2 separate regions of the Homo sapiens genome follow, and region 1 is linked to region 2. The links are contacts of gene promoters, found by promoter capture Hi-C in blood cells and fetal thymus (Javierre and others, 2016). All regions are on one chromosome and are shown on one strand. Each heading gives the region's core, a stretch centred on a gene start or on the middle of the fragment in contact. The rest is flanking DNA. Distances are from core to core; before and after follow the strand shown. Region 1 overlaps RLF (RLF zinc finger). Region 2 holds the start of COL9A2 (collagen type IX alpha 2 chain).

Evidence for each region. The method cuts DNA at HindIII sites, captures the fragments that hold promoters and counts their contacts. A CHiCAGO score of 5 or more calls a contact.
Region 1: a fragment that was not itself captured here is called in contact with the fragment with the promoter of COL9A2 in region 2 in 1 of 17 cell types (naive B cells); the score reaches 5.4 in naive B cells.

Annotation. Positions count from the first base shown.
Region 1 is chr1:40,209,645-40,212,344 of GRCh38, reverse strand. The region is part of intron 5 of RLF (RLF zinc finger); the gene reads right to left. Among named protein-coding and RNA genes, the nearest start is that of TMCO2, 37 kb to the left of the region's middle. The HindIII fragment of the contact is 168 bases long and covers 1,317-1,484 here.
Region 2 is chr1:40,315,871-40,318,570 of GRCh38, reverse strand. COL9A2 (collagen type IX alpha 2 chain) reads left to right here and starts at 1,285. Exons shown (of 32, transcript NM_001852.4): 1 at 1,285-1,448. The coding sequence starts at 1,374. RefSeq lists enhancers at 1,154-1,790, 1,791-2,427 and a silencer at 1,601-2,110. The HindIII fragment of the contact is 22,313 bases long and covers 1-2,700 here.

The sequences.
Region 1 (2,700 bases), core at 151-2,650, 110 kb after region 2:
TTCTGCCTTCCAGACCTACCAGATATCTGAAAGGACTCACTCTTTACCCACTAGGTTCTGAATTTTGACTTTCAGATGACCCAGTCAATTAATCTTAATTGTATGTGTCTGGCTAAATCTTCCCCAGCAGCGGTTTCCCATTACATATGCCTATTATTGGGATACCCCCAGGTACCAACATACAATGTACTTTTATTCCCAGCTGTTGCTCAAGTTAACTCTTCTCCTGAACTCAGGTGAAGTAGATGGCAAATATGTGTGTAACTCTGCTACTTTAGAACGTATGCTGAATTTAAACTCTAATTAATCAACATCTGGTGACTCACTAGTAATTTTCCAAAGCAAACTACAGATTATTTTTAATTCTGTTGACACTTGCAAAAGAAAAGTATCACTAGGATAAGAGACTGACTAGTGGCTGGGCGTGATGGCTCATGCCTTGTAATCCCAGCACTTTGGGAGGCCGAGGCGGGCGGATAACAGGAGGTCAGGAGTTTGAGACCAGCTGGTCACCAGTAGAAACGGTGAAACCCCGTTTCTACTAAAAATACAAAAATTAGCCAGGCGTGGTGGCACGTGCCCGTAATCCCAGCTACTCGGGAGGCTGAAGCAGGAGAATCACTTGAACCCGAGAGGCAGAGGTTGCAGTGAGCCGATATCACGCCATTGCACTCCAGCTTGGGCAACAAGAGTGAAACACCATCTCAAAGAAAAAGAAAGGAAAAAAAAAGACTGACTAGTTATGATGATACGATGATACTAGGGTTCCTTTAAAATAATTTTAAGATAACTTTATGTGTACTAAATGTTTTGCATTGGTATATTTAACAAATTAATCCACATCATGATAAAAATGTTTTAAATCACACCTATATGTATAAATATGAACAGAATGATATATCACCAAGATGTTCCCAATCAGACCATGGCTTATCAATGTCTAACACATGGAAATAGGTGGTAGAGTGGAAAGAAGGCTGACCAAGGAGCCAGGTGACCTGCATTCCAGCTGGGCTTGGCCTTTCTAATTAGCTTAATGCAGGAAGGGCCTTGGAAACATTATCAGCTTGGCTTCAGTTTCATCACGTGTAGAACACGGAGGGTTAGACCAACCGATATTAAACCACTGAAATAGACTGGAAAATTTAATTCTTGTAGAGCAGAGGTTAGCAAATATTTTTCGTACAAGGACAGACAGAAAATATTTTTAGCTTTTCTGGCCAGAGAGTTTCTGTTACAACTACTCACCTCTGCCACTGTAGCACAAAAGCAGCCACAGACAAGAAATGAATGTAAGACTTTGTGCCAGTAAAGCTTTATTTATAAAAACAGGTAGCTGGGTGGGTGCCAACCCCCTGTTGTGAATAGTATCAAATCGTATTTCCTATAACACAGTTCCCTGCAAACTCAACACAATCAGGAAAAATCCTGTTTCCAAACATTGTTATTAATAAACCAGGAAAGATCATGTATAAAACAAAGCTTATCATCTTCCCAGACTCTCCCTTGTCCCTCCACCCATTCTTTCTTCTAATTAGCAGCAGAGCACCACTATTCTTCCAGTCTCCCAAGCTAGAAGCCTTATGAGCCTCTTGAAGGTATCTCTGTACATCCTCCTCTGTTTTTGCCCGGTCAGCAAGTCCTGTCCTTTGTCCTCTTGCTGGCTACAATCTCTTGTCCTAAACATAATACATATTCTTTCTGTCTAGTCTTCCTAAAACACCACTTCAGACATGTCACTTCCTAACTGCAAAGCCTTCTTAATTTCTACTGCATCAAATCTAACCATTAATGCAATGGAGTTTCCAAGCCCTTCTTTTCCAACCCCAACAGGTCTTATTTCTCACAAGACTTCAATAACCACTCTGCCCTAAGCAGGGTATTTATTCTCCAGTGGATCCCTGCAAAGTACTCATTAGTACCTGTGCTTTACTACCATTCAGTCATCTCCAAACCATTCTTTCCACCCATCCAAACCCCACCATTACTTAAAGCTCCAATTCAAGGATCAATTTTTCTATAAACACAGAATTCTCTATCTTTACACTTCTACTGAATTTAGGGCAGTAATCATTGAGCTTAGTACTTCTCTTTCTGTAACTATTTTTGGCAAACAAACTGGGCCATACAGTTTGCTGTATTTGCCAATGCCTAATACAACATTAGAAACAAAACGGGTTTTAATTAAGCAAAGGCTGAGAGAGTAAAGTTGTTATTATTACAGGATGAGGAATCAAACCCAAAATGTAGTGTTTTGCTGCTGCTTTTGAATTGTTTTGGCATGTGTCAGGTGCTGAGAATAACCATTACTACATCTCAGTCTGATTAACTTTCCCAAACATAAAATACTGCAGCTGCTATTAGAGGTAAGCAATCTATCTCCTTACACTACCTGATACTGCAAATAAATAAATTAGCATACAGGTTTATAGTTGGTCTCTTATGATCGCCTTTTTTTTTTTTTTTTAAGACGGAGTCTCGCCCTGTCGCCCCAGCTCGAGTGCAAATGGCACGATCCTGGCTTACTGCAACCTCTGCCTCCTGGGTTCAAGTGATTCTCTTGCCTCAGCCTCCTGAGTAGATGGGATTACAGGCGCACACCACCACACCTGACTAATTTTTTGTATCTTTAGTAGAGACAAGGTTTCACCATGTTAGCCAGGCTGGTCTTGAACTCCTGATCTCATGATCTGCCCGCCT
Region 2 (2,700 bases), core at 36-2,535:
TCCCAACACTTTGGGAGGCTGAGGCAGGCAGATCACCTGAAGTCAGGAGTTCAAGAGCAGTCTGGCCAACATGGCGAAACCCCATCTCTACTAAAAATATAAAAATTAGCCAGGCATTGTGGCTCATGCCTGTAATTCCAGCTACTCGAGAGGCTGAGGCAGGGGAATCATTTGAACCCGCGAGGCGAGGTTGCAGTTAGCTGACATCGTGCCACTGCACTCCAGAGCCTTTTAAGACTCTGTCTTAAAAAAAAAATATATATATATATATATATGGACTATTAGTATCCCCATTTTACAGATGAGGAAAATGAGACTTCATAGAGTTTGGGGTGCCTGTGGTCATATCTATAATTGTGAAAAAGTCAGATTCCAAAGCATTTTACCAATATTGCCTAAGTGAGTGGGAGGGAAGGGAAGGCTCTCTGGAGTCGGGCTATGCTGGACAGCGGGGTTCGGAAACTCTGGTGAATAAAGTGGTAGTTGTTTCTATGAACATGGAGTGAGAAGGCCCAATCCTAAACACACCAGTGCTTAAGGCAGCTGCAGAGAATTAAAGGCAATAGAAAAAGGGGAGCTGGATGGCAGGAGCTTGGATGGGGAAGACTTCAAGGGCAGGTGAAGATGCCAACAGCTTCCTGCCTGGAGGACCGAAGAAGGGTTGGGCTTCACTGCAGACCTCCAGGAGACAGATTTGCTTGTTGGGACAGAGTAGGGAGGTGAAAGCGAGGTGAGGAAGTTCGGGGGTGGGGGAGGTGCACACAGCTCCACTAAAGAGCTGGAAGAGGCCGATGGAGTATTCATGAGACGGCTGATCCAGGAAGGACTGTGGCATATTAATATGGAAAAGGCCTGTTTGTTTGTGCTTGGAGAGGAAGGAGCCAGAGGAGAGGGGAGCAAGGTGGGCGGGAGCTGGGGAGAGCCTGCAGCAAGATCTGCAGAGCCCGAGGTGCTCTCGGCCTGGGCCCTGGAGAGGACGTAGGGTAAGTGATGGGGCACAGGCTGTGCGTCAGGGGGAAGGTGCTGGGGCCTGAAGGTCCCGAGGGGAACCTCAGACGGCCTTATGCCTTCTCACAAAGAAACTGGACCATCATCTCCGACCCGCACCCCGGTCGCCCCTCGAGGACAGAGGGTGGGCGCAGGAGGCTGGACCGAGCGGGGCGGAGCTGGATGCCTGGCGCCGGCCTCCCTCCCGGCAACCCCGCCGGTCCTCTCAGGTGACAGCTCACGCCGGCCCCCGCCCCGCCCCCCGCATATTCAGGAGCCCCAGCCCACCCTGCCCGCGAACAGCCAGCGCTGGAGGAGCGCCGGGAGACTCTGCCGTCGGTGCGTGCGCGGACACGCACCCGTCCCCCTTGGTCTCGCCGCCAGCCATGGCCGCCGCTACGGCCTCCCCCCGCAGCCTCCTTGTTCTCCTCCAGGTGGTAGTGCTCGCTCTGGCGCAGATTGTAAGTTTCGCAGCCCCTCCGCTGCCAGGGTCCAGGGTGCGGGGTCTGGAGTCCGGGATGGAGGAGCTCTGCCTGTGTCCCGCGCCTACTGACACCCCTAGCCCGAGAGGCCACCTGAGGACAGCGCCGCGGGCAGGTCCCCTCGGTGGGTGCATACATGGTGCCCATCGCGGCACCGTGAATGGAGGTGGCTGAGCCGGAGAGTCAAACGGGACCCGTCCCCAGACGCGCGGCCCGGCCCGGGACAGGCAGCGTGGGGCAGGAGCTGGCGCCCGGTCCTGGCAGCCCGGGGAGCCCAGGTGGCGGGGCATACAATGGTGCTCATTCACCCGCTGCGCAGCCTCCGCCCCCGCCGCCTCCCAGGGGGCGCCGGCTCCAACCAGACGCCGCTGTCGCCCCGAGGCGGCCTCTCGGCCCTGCCCGCCTACCCACGTCTCCCTTCCGAGGGCCGCCGGGGGCTGCGGGCGCGCGGGTAGGGCAGAGACTGGGCCCGGTCGGGTGCTGGGTGTGGTTTCGAGCTCGCCTGCGGGGCGCCAGCCTGGCACTTCGCGGCCTGGGGAGGTCGTGGGCACCGGGACCCCTGCCTGGGTCCGAGCTGGCCTCTTAAAAGGGCCGCCTTTTAAGATCTCTGATCTGTTCAGAGATGGGCAGCAGGATGGAGACTCTCCAGCTGTGAGCTCGCCTCATCTTGATATGACTTGTGACCTCCCTGAAACCTCACACCCACCCAGGGGCATTGAATTGCAGGCAAACGGGATCCAGAGAGAGGGTCTGCTTTCTGGGAGGTGCCGGCTCCTCCTGCTCCCCTGCAGCAGTCAGGGCTTAGCAGAGGGAGGACCGGGCAGCTGTGCTGCCGAAGGGGCGCTCCGAGTGGGAAGATAGTACCCGCTTCACCTCCCTACACCTCCTTTCTCTGCGCCTCCCCCACTTTCCCGTCGGGTTTTCCCGCACCATGGGGAGAGGAGGAGGCGCTGTCTCTGCCTGTCGTTCACGTAAGAACAACAACCCGAGCCACCGCTCACTGAGGGCCGGCAGCCTGCTAGGCACAACCTTACATTCCATCTGTGATTTATTTGAGCTGTCCACGTCTCCATCTATTCCCCACCGCGACCGCGCAAGGGCAAACTGGCACAGTGGAAGGAGTCGGGCAGATCCAGGGCGGACTCCTGGCGCCGCCGCCCACTCTCAGTGACCATGGACCCTTCACGTTCTGAGCCAGTTTCTTCGACTGCAAACTGGGGCCCGTAATAGC